5 separate regions of the Homo sapiens genome follow, and all the other regions are linked to region 1. Evidence: promoter capture Hi-C in 16 types of primary human blood cells and fetal thymus (Javierre and others, 2016). All regions are on one chromosome and are shown on one strand. Each heading gives the region's core, a stretch centred on a gene start or on the middle of the fragment in contact. The rest is flanking DNA. Distances are from core to core; before and after follow the strand shown.

Region 1 (3,002 bases), core at 259-2,758:
CTAACCTGTCTGTGGAAAGTTTGCAACCCTCTGAGTTCAGACTGGGGTTAGCCATGAAGCATGGGGTGACAGGAAATGGCATCCAGTAGTCACTCTTTCCTCTGGGTCCAGTCTTTTTCCCATCACTTTCATCATTGTCCGCTATTTTATTCCTCTGCCGCATCTCCTTTGGGACCCAAGAGGGAAGGAGGACACGAAATAATACAGGAAAGGAAATCAAAAAACAATTGTAGAGAAACCACTCCTCGTTTCCTCTTCTATGTCTCGTGTGTGTGTGTGTGTGTGTGTGTGTGTGTGTGTGTGTGTGTGTGTGTAAAATTTTAATTTCCCTGGAATTGGAACTACAGAAGTCCCTCCTCAGCCCTACCGGGAAAGTGGCACTGGGCACGACCGCCCTTTCCAAGGCAGTCTGCAATCCTTTTCGCGGAAGTAGAGGAGAAAAGGGGGTGGAGAAGGGCGCCGCGATGCAGCATCCGCTGAGAAAACAGGCAGTTCGCACGTGAGCGGGCTCGCAGCCTGTGGCGCCACCTGACCGGGCCTGGCGCCCCCAATGTGGTGCAGTGGCCCAGCAAGACCAGAAGGCTCAGGCCCTCCTGAACCCTTGCCAAGTCAGAGGTCCCTTTCTGCCTGGGCTCAGGCCTCGCCCGCATATAGTTTTCCATCTGCTTCCACCCCTGCCATCCTTCCTGGGGACCAAAAATGAAGAAAGACAACCCCCCCATCCCCCGGTATTTCGTCTTCCCCTCACAGCCTCTTCCTGTCCTGATCATCTGCTCAAAGAGAAGACGTTCTCTCCACACACTCCACCCCCGCCTCCACCTTCTGCGGCAATGAAGCCACGCCACCCTAGGGGGCTCGGGGGCCGGATGCTGGCGGGGCGCGCACTAGAGACACGCCGCACTGGAAGCAGCCCTCGGAGTCCCGTGAGCCAGGGAGACTGGGGTGCACCGCGCCACGCTGAGTCTCGGTGTAAAAGCCGAGAGCGTGAGCACCTCCTGGCCGAAAGCACGCGAGGCGCTCCTTGCCCAGGACCCCGCGCGCCCCCTCAGTTCCCGGGCAGCTGTCGGCGCGCACTGGCTGACGCGAGCTCTGCTCCCGCGGCCGCTTCGGGATTTTTTTGTCTATATAAGGGCTCGCTGGCCAACTCTGCGTTGGCACGTTTGTCACAGGCTGGCCATTATTTGCACACACGCGTGCGGCTCCGCGGGCAGCTCGGGTCGCAGACGCAGGCTCGCCCTCCTCTTAGCCGGCACCTCCTCCTCCTCCTCCTCCTCTCCCCTCCCTCCCCAGCTGTACTTACTTTATCTGGTCTCTGGCGCAGGGTGGGCGCTGCAGCCCTCCGTTCCCAGCAAACCGCAGCCGATTCGCCTCGCTGTCAACGGGTGAATGGAATTATTTATTTATTTATGGCCCCTGACGTGTCCTCGCCCGCCACAGCCAGCGGAGAAGGAGGCGGTGGCGGGAAGGGGAGGCGCGGCTGCTGAACGCCCTTGTGGGTGCGGAGGAGCGCGCGCCAGGGGTGGGGGCCGGACAGGCTGCGGTGGAGGCCGGCCCGGGGGGTGGTGGGGGGGAGCCGCCTCCCGGTGCCTGGAGACCGACTGAGCATGCTCCAAGCGGCTGTCAAAGCTATAGGCACTTTCTCTATCGCTCGGGGCACTCCACTTCGGATTTTAGTTTTGACCAAGGAAGAAAGCCAAAAGGCAGGTAGATCTGTCTTTCCAGATGGGTCGTAACTTGCTGTATCCGAAGTACTCTGTAGCCTGACCTAGAAGACAGATGTGCGGTAGCTCTGTGCAACCCAAGCATGGGAGAGGAAAGCATGCAAAAAAAGAAGAGTCTGGCCGAATGCAGGGAGAATAGGAGATCCTCATTGTGAGCTTGCAGGGAAAGTGTTGAGCCATTTTTCAACTGAGGCCTTTTTGGGAGAAAGAGGTAGGGCACTGTTGGAGATTAGACTCACCAACCAAATCACTTCACGGAAAAAAATATAATTGACACCATAGGAGGAAGGACATAGAAAACAGCACCAAAAAACATTAAAAATAAGAAGGATTTTTTTTCAAATCATTTATAATTCCTTTCATTTTTAATTTCTCAAATTACTTAGTTCTTCAAACCAGCATTTAGTTATTTGACAACGAATAGTGCTAGAGATAATGGTAATTCTGCTGTCATTGGTTTGGTCTCTTCCCCTGTCTAAAATGTGCTTCTTGGTAAAACTGGAAAGAGGAAGGGCTGGAAGAGAACATTTAAGTAACCCCATAGATTGGGTTTCTTTAATATCTTTAAGTTAAATTGCCACTTTAGAGAAAAAGAAACTATCCAAAAGAATAATTGTAGGTTTTGGCTTGACAAGTCCTATTGCAGTTTGTCTACCAGTTTAGCTAGCTTTCTCCTCCTTGATTTCACAATCATTTTAAGGTGTGTTCTATGATTCTTCACATTTTACGAATTTATAAAAAGAGTTAAGTCATTTGGGTAAATTCACATTGTCTTTGCCACAGCTAGTCTGTTGTAATGGACGAAATTTGAATTTCAATTTCTGTAGCTATGAAATAAAAGTAATATCAATCGTGTTGATTTCATAAGATTTAAGTGAAATAATATACATGAAGTGGCTGGTAGGCATAATACAAGATGAAAAAATAATCGTGATTAATAACATCAAAATTACTGGAAGATAATTTTATTGAAAGAATGATATTTGAAAATGAAAAAAAGGCAGAAAATTACAGAAAGGATTTTATATTTTTAAGCTAAAAATGCTTAAATAGACATTTGTATAAGACATAATAGGCCTTTGATAATGATGAAATGTCTAGCAGTGACTATAAACACTTCATTTAATTAAAAAAAGTTAAACATTTAAAAGAAACAACATAAAGGCACATTTCAAGGTCATAGTCTTGAGTGTTTGCTATTGATATTTTTCCTGCTCATTCATCACTTTTATTTCCTGTCAAAGAAGAGGAAGAAGAAAGACCATATGCTTTCTGAATTTT
Region 2 (3,002 bases), core at 342-2,841, 2.9 Mb before region 1:
GTTTGTGCATTTTGTCCAATTCTTTGTTCAAGATGCCAAGAACCTGGACAGCTTTTACTGGTAAAACAATGAGCCATGATCATATCACTACACTCTAGCCTGGGCAACAAAATGAAACCCTGTTTCAAAAAAAAAAAAAAAAAAAAAGGGAGGGAGGGGAAGATCTGATAAAGTTAGAGGCCTGTCTCTTTCCTTAATCTATTTTCTGAACATCTTTTTTTTTTTTGAGACGTTGTTTCACCCTTGATGCACAGGCTGGAGTGCAATGGCGTGATCTCAGCTCACCGCAACCTCCGCCTCCCAGGTTCAAGCAATTCTCCTGCTTCAGCCTCCCTAGTAGCTGGGATTACGGGCATGTGCCACCACGCCCGGCTAATTTTGTATTTTTAGTAGAGACAGGGTTTCTCCATATTGGTCAGGCTGGTCTTGAACTCCCAACCTCAGGTGCTCCGCCCACCTCAGCCTCCCAGAGTGCTGGGATTACAGGCATGAGCCACCGTGCCTGGCCTATTTTCTGAACATCTTGATTGGAACCTTCCTTTCAGATTGGTTATTTGTTTAGAAAGAAAGAACTTTAGGTTTGTCATAGCACTACTCAGTACATATCCCTATATGATAACACATATTCTATTTAATTGTAACATTGTCTGTCTCCCTGCTACACTACGAGTTCTTCAGTGGAAAGGCCCTTGTGTTACTCATAGCTATATTCCTGGCAACTGGTGTGTGTTTGTGTGTGTGTACACACACACAGACTAAAACAGTTGTTTCAGTTACACGGATTCTTGTTCTTGATCACAGAGGAGCGAAGGTACAGAGAAAGTTATCAAGGCAAGAATTTGAGCAAAGGAAAACACTAGTGGACTGGGATATACATGTTAGGCAACTTGTTCCCACAGAGGAGACTCAATAAATCTTGAAGTGAGTGCCATCATGTACCTGCCACGGTACATCTTATCCCAAATAGCTGCTTCCTTACCTCAAGAAATATTTGTTGAGTGAATGGAATGCTGCAACTAAGATAAGCTTTCTGCCTTTGGAGTTTAAGACCACAACTGTAAAAATACTAAGCCATTGTGAAAACAACTGTACATGGCATATGGTGTTTGCCAAAAGTAAATGTCTTAAATCTTTGAAATAAAGTTTGAATCACAACCAATAATTATTCTTAAGATCAGTGAATTCGCCTGGCATGGCGGCTCATGCCTGTAATCCCAGCACTTTGGGAGGCCGAGGCAGGTGGATCATGAGGTCAGGAGTTCACCACCAGCCTGGCCAACATGGCAAAACCCTGTCTCTACCAAAAAAATACAAAAATTAGCTGGGTGTGGTGGTGCACCCCTGTAATCCTAGCTACTCAGGAGGCTGAGGCAGGAGAATCACTTGAACCCAGAAGGCAGAGGTTGCAGTGAGCCGAGATAGCACCACTACACTCCAGCCTGGGCGACAGAGCAAGACTCTGTCTCAAAAAAAAAAAAAAAAAAATCAGTGAAGTCAATGTAAAATTCCTAGCATAGTGTTTGGAACACGACTGGTGCACAGAAATTATTAGCTCCTTATTGTCTTAATACAGAGCCAAGAGTAGACAGTGAATGTTTTCCTTCACTACATTTATGTACTGATTATTGTATCTTTTTATTGTAAGACATTTTTGAGGATCTGGTTTTATTTTTTAAAATTATTGGCAAGGCCAGACCTCAGTCAAAATGTGGAGTAGGTAGTTCCCAAGGCTCATTACCCTTCACAGAAACACCAAAAAATGAACAAAAACTGTCAGAATCCGCTTCTCCAGAATCTGGAAAATAGTCAAAGGTTTATAGCAACCAAGTGAACACTGAATTAAGAAAATGACTTAAGCCAGCAGGAGAGCTTTGTGGCATTTAACTTAGCTTTGCCTCACTCACATTCCCAGAATAATAGCAGGTCTTCTAGATGGCAATCTACATTCCTGCTGGGGATATCTGGTTCTGAATGAAATAGAGTGGACCTTCTTTCAAAGAATTGTGTTTGTTAGCTGCAATATGTCTGGGAGTTCCCTAAAGGACTGAAAAACAGGATTGCCTTTATTTCGCCTTACTCAGAACTCTTTCGGGGCAGAAAAATGGCTAAGTGAGGGCATTCTTCAAAAACATTTAAAGGCACATAAACAAGCTTAGGAATCCCTCTCTTGAACGTATATAATATACATATTTAGACTATGAACTGCCAGATTGCTTTACAGAATGGACAAATATGTCTGGTCTTTCACCAGCAGCACTAGGTCCCTGTATCTCCACATTTCCACCAACACTTGGGAAAATTAGATTTTCTACTGTGTGTCAATCTAATGGTATAAAATCTCACTGTTTTAATTTGTATTTTATTACTAATGATTTTGTGCATGTTTTCATGTATGTGTTAAGATTTGGGTTTCTTCTTCTGTGAATTGCCCATTATCATTTGTCCATATTTCTATTGTATTTTCTTGTTGTTAATTTGGAAGCATTTATCATATGTTCTAGGTATCAGTGCCTCTTTAGCATTAGACAGTATAAATGATTTCTCCTAATTTGCTATGTGTTTGTTAACTTTTTTCATAAAGTCCTTTGTTGAAAGGAAATCCTTAATTTTATAAAGTCAAACCTTATTCCAAGTCTTGGGACAGAAATTTTCATTGTTTTTTTGCATCATTCCTTCATCTTAAGGTTTGTGCTTTCTGGTAGTCTTCTCTAACTTTCAACTTTTCTCAAGTTGTTTAAGTTGAAAAGCCATGAGCCATGAGTTTGCATTATATAGATTTAATTTTACCAGCCTGTTCATGGATTTCAAAGAGAGAGGCACTTTACCAGTTTATATGATGTTTTTGAATAGCCTCTCTCAGTACCACACCAAACCCATTAACAAAGCTGGTACCTAATCAGACACCATGCAGTCAATCAGGAATAGGCCCAAATGAACCTTCCCAATGTTTTTTAAGCAGTGACTATAATCAGAGACTGATTTGTCTCTTTATTATCTGCACC
Region 3 (3,002 bases), core at 292-2,791, 2.6 Mb before region 1:
AAATTTCATGATGAAAACATAAACAGCAATTGCAACAAAAGGAAAAATTGACAAATGGGATCTAATTAAACCAAAGAGCTTCTACACAGCAAAAGAAACTATCATCAGAGTGAGCAAACATTCTACAGAATGAGAGAAAATTTTGCAGTCTATCCATCTGACAAAGTCTAATATCCAGAATCTACAAGGAACTTAAACAAATTTACAAGAAGAAAACAAACAACCCTATTAAAAAGTGGGCAAAGGACTTGAACAGAGACACTTCTCAAGAGAAGACATATATGCAACTAACAAGCATGTGAAAAAAACTCAACATCACTGATCATTAGAGAAATGCAAATTAACACCACAATGAGATATCATCTCACACCAATCAGAATAGTGTTTATTAAAAAGCAAGAAACAACAGATGCTGTTGAGGTTGTGGACAAACAGAAACACTTTTACACTGTTGGTGGGAATGTAAATTAGTTCAACCATTGTGGAAGACAATGTGGTGATTCCTCAGAGACCTAGGACCAGAAATACCATTTGACCCAGCAATGCCATTACTGGGTATATACCCAAAGGAACATCAATCATTCTATTATAAAGATACATGCATGTATATGTTCATTGCAATACTATTTACAATAGCAAAGATATAGAATCCACACAAATTCCCACTAGTGATAGACTCGATAAAGACAATGTTTTATATATATATACACATACATATATATATATATACACACACATACACACACACACACCATGGAATGCTATGTAGCTGTAAAAAGGAATGAGATCATGTCCTTTGCAGGGAAATGGATGGAGCCCAAAGCCATTATCCTCAGCAAACTAACACAGGAACAGAACACCAAACACCGCATGTTCTCATTTATAAGTGGGAGCTGAACAATGTGAACACATGAACACAGGGAGGGAAACAACACACACAGGGGCCTGATGGCGTTGGCAGGGTGTGGGGAGGGAGAGTATCAGAATAAATAGCTTATGCATGGGGGTATAATACCCAGGTGATGGGTTGATAGGTGCAGCAAACCACAATGGTACATGTTTACCTATGTAACAAACCTAGACGTCTTGCACATGTATCCAGGCACTTAAAACAAAATGAAGTAAAATAAAATAAAAAGGCATGTGGCCTACTTATCCCCAGTACTCCAGCTTACAATCAGCCAATTGTCAGATAATGACGGAGGCAATGCACTGCCAGTTGATTTCAGACACATGAGTAAGCCCAACCGAGTCGGGAAGAATGAGCCAAAAACAAATTGCCAATCCACAGAAATGTGAACTAAATAAATGTTTCTTCTTTAAGTAACTAAGTTTTGGGGTGGTTTGTTATATTTGCCTACTACATGTAGGACAGTTTTCCTGCCTCAGTTGTTTCTCACATCACTTTGTGAAATGGTCTTCTTGACTTATCTCCATGGCATGTGTCTATTCAGTTGGCCTGTTTGGTTTCCTGAGTTTTGACCACAAAGTATTTATAGAGTATTTATTGTGTGTAAGGTACCATGCTAGGGGATGGGGATAGCATAAGTTAATAACATGCATGTAACCTTGGGTTGTGTGGAATGAATTCTGTGCTTCCTTCCATTCACTTGATTACATGAAAATATTCTGTAAATGTTTTTAAAAAACATTTAAAAGATAAGTGAGAGACACATTATTGCATAAGTTAGAAATAACTTGGTTAACATCAAATAAAATAAGAGGAGACAAGTGGGGATGAATGGCTTGTAGGTAGCAATCCTACAAGCTAAGAACTATGAACTGGGACTCGTAAGTTTTAATTTAATTGTTATAATACCGTATCTTGCAGAACACTGCGGGGAGCCAGAGCTAATTTTTCTCCTTATTCTATCTCTCTTACTAATCTCTTCTCTTTATTCTTACTAATGAACCCAGGTTCTCTGGCTAAAGCCTTTTCCATATCCAGATCCAAATGAGTTTGATCTCCCTGTGATACAGGGGTTGGAGGCAGAAAGAGAGGAGGCTGGGAAAACAAAAACAAGAACAAAACCAAGCCAAACAAAAAATCAATGACTGGCTCTGACTTTAGATAGATCTGGTTTGAATCTCAGCTCCAATATATAATAACAGGTAGATTGTCTCATTTTTTTTTTCATGTGATAAGTGGGTTTATATCGTCTGCTTTATGAGATGTTGTGGGGATTTGAGGTAAGGAGTTTGGATATAATACAAAGCCTTTTGTAGAAAGCTAGAAGTGCTCCAAAAGCTCTCCACCACAGCAGATGGGAATACAAAATGGCACAGACACTTTAGAAAATACTTCTTGTTTTTAAGTTAAACATACCCTACCATATGATCCAGCCATTTCATTTCTAGGTAGTAACCCAAGAGCAATGAAAACATAGGTTCACTCAAAGCCTTCTTCACAAATGTTCATAGCAGCTTTATTTTTAATATCCCCAAACTAGAAGTAACCCAAATGTTCATTAAGAGGTGAATGGTTAAAGAAATTGTGGTATATCTACAATGTGAAATACTACTTGGAAGTAAAAAAGAATGACCTATTGCTATGTACAACAACACAGATGATCTGAAAATAATTATTCCAATGGGAAGAAGCCTGACAAAAAAAGAACACATAAAATACTATTCAATTTATATAAACTGTGGAAAATGCAAACTATAGTGACAGAAACTAGATCAGTGGATGCTAGAGACAGGACTGGAAGAAGATATGGATTATAAATGGGCATGAGGTAACTTTTGGGGGAATGGAAACATTTGGTATTTTGACTGGTGGTAGTTTCACAGATATACCCATGTGTCAAAACTCATCAAATTGTACACTTTAAATACATGCAGTTGATTGTATATCAATTATACTTCAATAAAGTAATTTTCTATAAAAGGCAAAAAAGAAAAAGCCTGAAGTGCACCAAAGTGATTTTTAGCGAACAGAACATGGAAAGCTATGATAGAGTTACAATCCAGTTAAGTTCAGTGTTTAAAGAAATTATTTT
Region 4 (3,002 bases), core at 210-2,709, 2.6 Mb before region 1:
TGGCCCGTGGACTATGGTTTGAGTTGCATGGCTTTAGAAAGCATTTTTATCACTAAATTTTATTCTGCACATTCGAAAAGGTGGGAAGCCTTCAACTCTTACCCCTTTGACAGGTTTCTCCCTGTGGCAAGCAGCTCAAACCTGGTCACTGACTCCAAACATTTTTCTCATAGGCTCTTTCATAGGAGCACAGAATTTGTAAGTGTTTTGCTTAGTTTTTTAACCTTCCATTTAGAGAACATATTTTTCCTCCAATACGTAAATTAGAAATTGTTTTTCACATATTAATACAAGTTTGGTTTACATCCTACAGTTTGAAGAGATGTTTATTTCATAACTAAGACATTATATTATATATCAATATATTCTAGTATACAAAGTCAATTTTAGTTCTCCAAATTATTTTTGGAATTTCAATAGTGACTTATTCCTTTTAGGGCTTAGATGTCAAAATTTTGGCCATAATGTCTAGGTTTTTGTTCTACTTGAGTAGCTACTATGTGTAGCGGGGGGGGGATGGACTTGAGAAAAGATGAAGCTTTCCTTGTGTATTTATTGGGCTTACAATTTTAAAATGAATATCTCTTCCTTTTTGTAAATTTTGCCCTGTTAATCTTAAATAACTTTCCATAAGTGATTCCTATAGGATTGAAGACATAATACTTTATGATTTAGGAAGTTTGAACTTCTTATCTTCATATATTAGAAGGATTTTCTCACCCTAAGCCAGTTTGGCTAATGTCAGAAGGTGTCATAGCTAAGGTACGTGACTCTATTCTACTGCTGTCTAGGACCTCATGTCACAAGCTCAGTTCACTGGATGAAATATTTCGTCATCAGTTTTATCAATGCTCTGGAAGTTCTTATGTTTCCTTATGCTGGTGTATTAATTATAAACTGAGATTAGATTTAGACATGTCAGTCTGAGGGAGTGAAGCAATTTGTTTTCTTTCAAGTTGTATGATTAATATAGTTCGTAATAGTCATGCTATTAAATCTTACTCAGTTTTTTTCTTCTAAGTGTTTACAAGTTTCTACTATATAGAATAGCTTTGCTTATAGCAGAGGAATGATATCAATTCATTCCACTGAATCTGTTAGACTGTAAGCTCTGTGAGGCAGACCCATGTATATCTCATTTCTATTGATTCTCAATGTTTAGCATAGTGTCTGGCATCTAATAGGTACTTAATAAACTTAATGGGAAGATGGGATCAGTAGTTACATAGTTACAAATTGATAGAGTGTAGCTTTATATGTTTCTTCAATGCCGAAGGGAGAATTCTGTGAAGAAGTGTCATTTCTAATTATGTGTGTGTGCACACGCGTGTGTGTATGTGAGAGAGAGACTCAGGGGGCGGGGGGCACCAGTTTTTCTGACCTACACCCGAATTAACAAATACATTCTAGGCAAAAGGTCAAGGACAAAAATAAAGTAAGCATGCTGACTGAAATTCTCATTCTTTCCATAATTTATTGTAACCTGGAGACTTAGAGACTACATACACTTGTGATTCTACTGTTGTATAAATTAAATAATATTTGTCAATGTCAAATTTAAGTGTTGTTAATCACATATGGAATATATTTTGATTGCTCTTGTCAGTAACTTGACTCATTCATTAGGGAATTTAAAGCCATTTATTCTTATCTACATAATTACCATTTTTGTAATTTATCATGAACTGGGATTTGCTTTTTTTTTGTTAACTTCAGAAACATTATTGACCATGATACCATTGTTCTTGGCTTCAATGATACTAAATTTTTTTGGCTATTCTAATTCTAAATGCTATTTAGTATAGCTAATATGCTCAGATATTTATTGATTTCATTTTCACCCTTCTGAGTTAAGTAAGGCTTCTAAATTCTTGCCACCATAGAAGATTCCACAAAATTAAAACTCTTTGACTGTACTTGATTATTTAAAAAACACATATGTTTAATAAAACCTGAAAAAGTTCAGTTTATTAGATTATAAAAAAGTTGAATATTTTTTCTTTGCATGTATTTTAAAAGATTATAACTGTATATATTAGCATTGCTACACACTTAGAAACTTTCTCAAAACCCTTGAATATGATGTCTTTAGTCTTTGAAGTATAATATTTTTGGGATTCTCTGATGATTCTCAAGAAAGGCTTTAAATGGAATGAACCTGATTTTTCCTTGTATTGTCCCAAAACACTCAGACTTGTGTAACTAAGCTCTAAGCTCAATCTAATTTTTGAGCTATGGCTACGGTGGTACTTATTGAAAAAGATGTATCTATTCTTCTTCCCCAATGCAATCCCAAATATGAAAATTCGTAAAAAATTCAGGTACTGTATAGTACTGAAAAAAATTTAAAATCAATACATGGAATTGAAATCAAGCTTACTGCACATTGGTGAATTTTACCTTGGAGCAGAGTCCATGTTACACTACTAGGAAAACTGGGTGAGCTATGATTTTCCTTGCTTACTGTCTTTTCCTAGCAGCTGATTACCTAGTCTTTAAGGTGAACTTCAGGGTTTGTAGCTAATATTTTACTTTGCATTTTATGAAATCTGCATCAAGTTCACTGGGCAGATGGTATGGCAGACCGGAGTGAACTGAGAGAAAAAAGCAGACTGAATAACTGGCAGTCAGGGATTGAGAAGGTGGCAGGGTTAGCATTTTGTGGGATATAACGAGGAAGAATTATCAGGTAGGGAGCCAGATGGAGTAAAAGTAAGAGAGAAAAGAAGATCAGAAGGGAAGTTTGTTCTAGATTTCTCTCTAAAAAAAGAGGAAATCCTTGACCTTTGAGAAAAGTAAGAAGTTAGAAAAGAATAAATCCATTGAAATTCTTGGGGAACAAAGAGGTAAAATGGCAATGCACTGAAGTAAGACCATAGAGGAGAGAAAAATGCGTGGAGCCAAACCGAGTGTCCTGCCTCAGTCTTGTAAAACCTCTATTCAGGAACAAGAAATTTCTGTCAAGGTTGTTTATTAAACTAAAAGTCAAAAATAATGAGTTC
Region 5 (3,002 bases), core at 309-2,808, 2.5 Mb before region 1:
GGCACTCCTTGAGGGTTATCTCAGGAAATAACAGCTTCCAGATAGAAAAATATGTTTCTTGGTTTTAGATGCTAGATATTCCTGTGCCACAATCCTCCTTCAAAGGAAGAATTCTCATATAGCCTTCTTCATTTTTGATGCTTTTTTCTAACTAATTTCCAGTGTCTTTTTTTTTTTTTTTTTTTAATGTGGTCCAGGCCCTCTACAGGGCTGTTTCCCCGAGAGTCTTCTTTTCTATCTCTTCGTAGCATAAAATCTTCCCTGGTCCAGGATCCAGGATAAAGCTCCTTCTACCACAGTGTTAGCAGACCAAAGACCCGGTTCCATGTTCTTTGTCTCTGTCTGAGCAGAAGGACCGGGGACAGCCTAAGAGCTACTCCTGTACGTGCTGCTGTCTCCTGGGAATTGCTCCTTTTCTCTTGTATTTCTTGATCAATTACTTGAACTGTCTTTTAGTTGGCTAATTCAATTTGCCTTGTTTTTTTTTTTCTTCTGAAGTTTTAGTACATTTACATAGCTACTGAATTGGGATGGAAAGAGGAATGTGAGATTGTTAAGTGACTATGGACAAAAAGGACTCATGAATAAAACAAATGTGGAGTTCTGTTGTTTTTCCTTCATTAACAATACTGTTAATAGTGCATCTTTGAAACATCAATACTACAAATTTGCCTTAAGCTGAGGAGTTACCCTTGATTCTTATTTTTCCTTTGTTCTTCATAGCTAGGGCAACCATATGATTTATTCTTCAAACTGGGATACTGTTGAGAATAAAAGAGATACTAACCATACAGGGCACTGGGACAACAGACAGAAATCAGCTCTGTCCCAGGGAAACAGGGAATGTATGATTACCCTATTTATAATGAAAACAGCAAGATTTGTTGGCTTTACCTTCAAAACATATGTTGAATGCCTCCATTTTTCTCTGTCATGACTGCTATCATCTATTCCAAGCCACCACCGTCCCTACTGTTAGAACAACTCCTAATGGATCTGCTTCAACTCTTGCCCTCTTATGATTCATTTCCTACACAGTGGCCAAAGTGATCTTTTACAAACAAATTAGATCACTTAATTCTCCTGCTCAAAAATCCTCCAAGTTTTACATTGTCCTTAGAAGAAAATCTAGGCTCCTTCCCTGGCCTACCACATCTTACCTATCCCTTGTAGGTCATCCCTTATCTACATTCCCAGGATCCACTCTAGTGTGCCTTTTTTCTGTTTCTTCAACATGCAGAGCTCATCCCTGCTTCAAGGACTTTGCATTTGCTATACTCTCTGCTTCAAATGCTTGTCCCCCAGGTCTCACCTTTCTGATTCTTTCTTGTCAATCAGACCTCAGTCAAATGTCATTTCCACTGAGTACTCTCATTCTAATGTAGTTTTCGGGCTTCTTCCAGTCACTTTCAGTGATACAATGTTTCTTTGTAGCACTTCTTACTGCCTGAAATTATCTTTGTATACTTTGTTTTTACCGTGGTAAAGTGTACATAATCTGAAATTTACCATTTTAACCATTTTAAGTGTACAGTTCAATGGTATTAAGTATATTCACATTGTTGTATAACCATCATGACTATCCATCTCCATGACTTTTTTCAGCTTCCCAGTCCCATAACTCTACACCCACCAAGCACTAACTTCCCATTCCTCTCTTTCACCCAGCTCCTGGCAACCACCATTCTACTTTCTGTCTCTATGAACAAATTTGACTACTCTAAGTGCCTCTTATAAATGGAATCATACGGTATTTGTCATTTTGTAACTGGCTTATTTCACTTAGCCTAAAATCCTCAAGGTTAATCCATATTGTAGCATGTGTCAGAATTGGTTCCTTTTTTATGTCTGAATATTATTCCATCTTATGTATATACCACATTTTATTTATCCATTTATCTGTTAGTGGACACTTGGGTAGCTTTTACATTTTGGCTATTGTGAATAGTGTTGCTATGAATATAGGTGTATAGATAACTGCTTGAGTCCTTGCTCCCAACTCTCTTGGTTATATAACCAGATGTGAAATTGCTGGATCACATAGTAATTCTATTTTTAATACTGTTTTCCATAGTAGCAATACCATTTTGCCTTCCCTCCAGCAATGAGCAAGATTTCATTTTCTCTACATCCTCACTAACATTCATTCCCCACCCCCTACCCTTTTTTGGGTAATAGCCATCCTTTATATGTATGAAGTGGTATCTTATTGTGGTTTTGATTTGCATTTCTCTAATGATTAGTGATGTTAAGCATCTTTTTATATTCTTATTACCCATTTGTATACATTCTTTGAAGAAATCTCTATTCAAGTCTTTGTCCGTTTTTAAATTGGATGGTTGGTTTGTTGTTATTCAGTTGTAGGAGTTCTTTATATATGCTGGATATTATTCCCTTATCAGGTATATGATTGGCAAATATTTTGTCTCATTTTATGGGTTGTCTTTTCACTCTGTTGATACTGTCCTCTGACATACAAAAGTTTTTAACCTTGAGGAAATCCAAATTACCTATTTTTTTCTTCTGTTGCCTCTGCTTTTGATGTCATATCCAAACAATCTTGCTAAATCCAATGTCATGATGCTTTTTCCTGTTTTTTTTTTTGTTTTTGTTTTGTTTTGTTTTGTTTTTTTGAGACTGTCTTAGTCCGTTCTCATAATGCTATGAAGAACCACCTGAGACTGGGTAATTTGTAAAGAAAAGAGTTTCAATTCGCTCATGGTTCTGCAGGCTGTATATGCTTCTGCTTCTTGGGAGACCTCAGGAAACTTACAATCATGGCAGAAGGAGAAGGGAAAGCAAGAAACTTCTTCACATGGTGGCAGGAGAGAAAGAGAAAGAGTGAGTAGGGAAGTGCCACACTCTTTTAAACCATCAGATCTCATGAGAACTCACTATCACAAGAACAGCATGGGAAAAATCTGCCCCCATGATCTAGTCACCTCCACCAGGTCCCTCCCCCATCACTGGAAATTACAATTCAACAGGAGTTTAGGATGGGG

Evidence for each region. Contacts are between HindIII fragments. The CHiCAGO score rates a contact against its expected background, and 5 or more counts as called.
Region 2: a fragment that was not itself captured here is called in contact with the fragment with the promoter of SLC16A7 in region 1 in 2 of 17 cell types (total CD4 T cells and non-activated CD4 T cells); the score reaches 6.3 in total CD4 T cells.
Region 3: a contact is called between a fragment that was not itself captured here and the fragment with the promoter of SLC16A7 in region 1, in 1 of 17 cell types (non-activated CD4 T cells). The highest score is 5.9, in non-activated CD4 T cells.
Region 4: a contact is called between a fragment that was not itself captured here and the fragment with the promoter of SLC16A7 in region 1, in 4 of 17 cell types (total CD4 T cells, monocytes, naive CD4 T cells and 1 more). The highest score is 10.9, in total CD4 T cells.
Region 5: a contact is called between a fragment that was not itself captured here and the fragment with the promoter of SLC16A7 in region 1, in 1 of 17 cell types (M0 macrophages). The highest score is 6.2, in M0 macrophages.

The regions. Positions count from the first base shown.
Region 1 is chr12:59,594,535-59,597,536 of GRCh38, reverse strand. SLC16A7 (solute carrier family 16 member 7) reads right to left here and starts at 1,508. Exons shown (of 6, transcript NM_001270623.2): 1 at 1,301-1,508. RefSeq lists enhancers at 700-849, 900-1,039 and a silencer at 1,510-1,579. The HindIII fragment of the contact is 11,642 bases long and covers 1-3,002 here.
Region 2 is chr12:62,456,801-62,459,802 of GRCh38, reverse strand. No RefSeq gene overlaps it. Among named protein-coding and RNA genes, the nearest start is that of MON2, 8.5 kb to the left of the region's middle. The HindIII fragment of the contact is 1,125 bases long and covers 1,029-2,153 here.
Region 3 is chr12:62,197,322-62,200,323 of GRCh38, reverse strand. It overlaps a transcript of TAFA2 not described here. Among named protein-coding and RNA genes, the nearest start is that of TAFA2, 6.0 kb to the right of the region's middle. The HindIII fragment of the contact is 4,693 bases long and covers 1-3,002 here.
Region 4 is chr12:62,179,505-62,182,506 of GRCh38, reverse strand. The region is part of intron 1 of TAFA2 (TAFA chemokine like family member 2); the gene reads left to right. Among named protein-coding and RNA genes, the nearest start is that of TAFA2, 12 kb to the left of the region's middle. The HindIII fragment of the contact is 1,837 bases long and covers 541-2,377 here.
Region 5 is chr12:62,085,798-62,088,799 of GRCh38, reverse strand. The region is part of intron 1 of TAFA2 (TAFA chemokine like family member 2); the gene reads left to right. Among named protein-coding and RNA genes, the nearest start is that of TAFA2, 110 kb to the left of the region's middle. The HindIII fragment of the contact is 3,802 bases long and covers 1-3,002 here.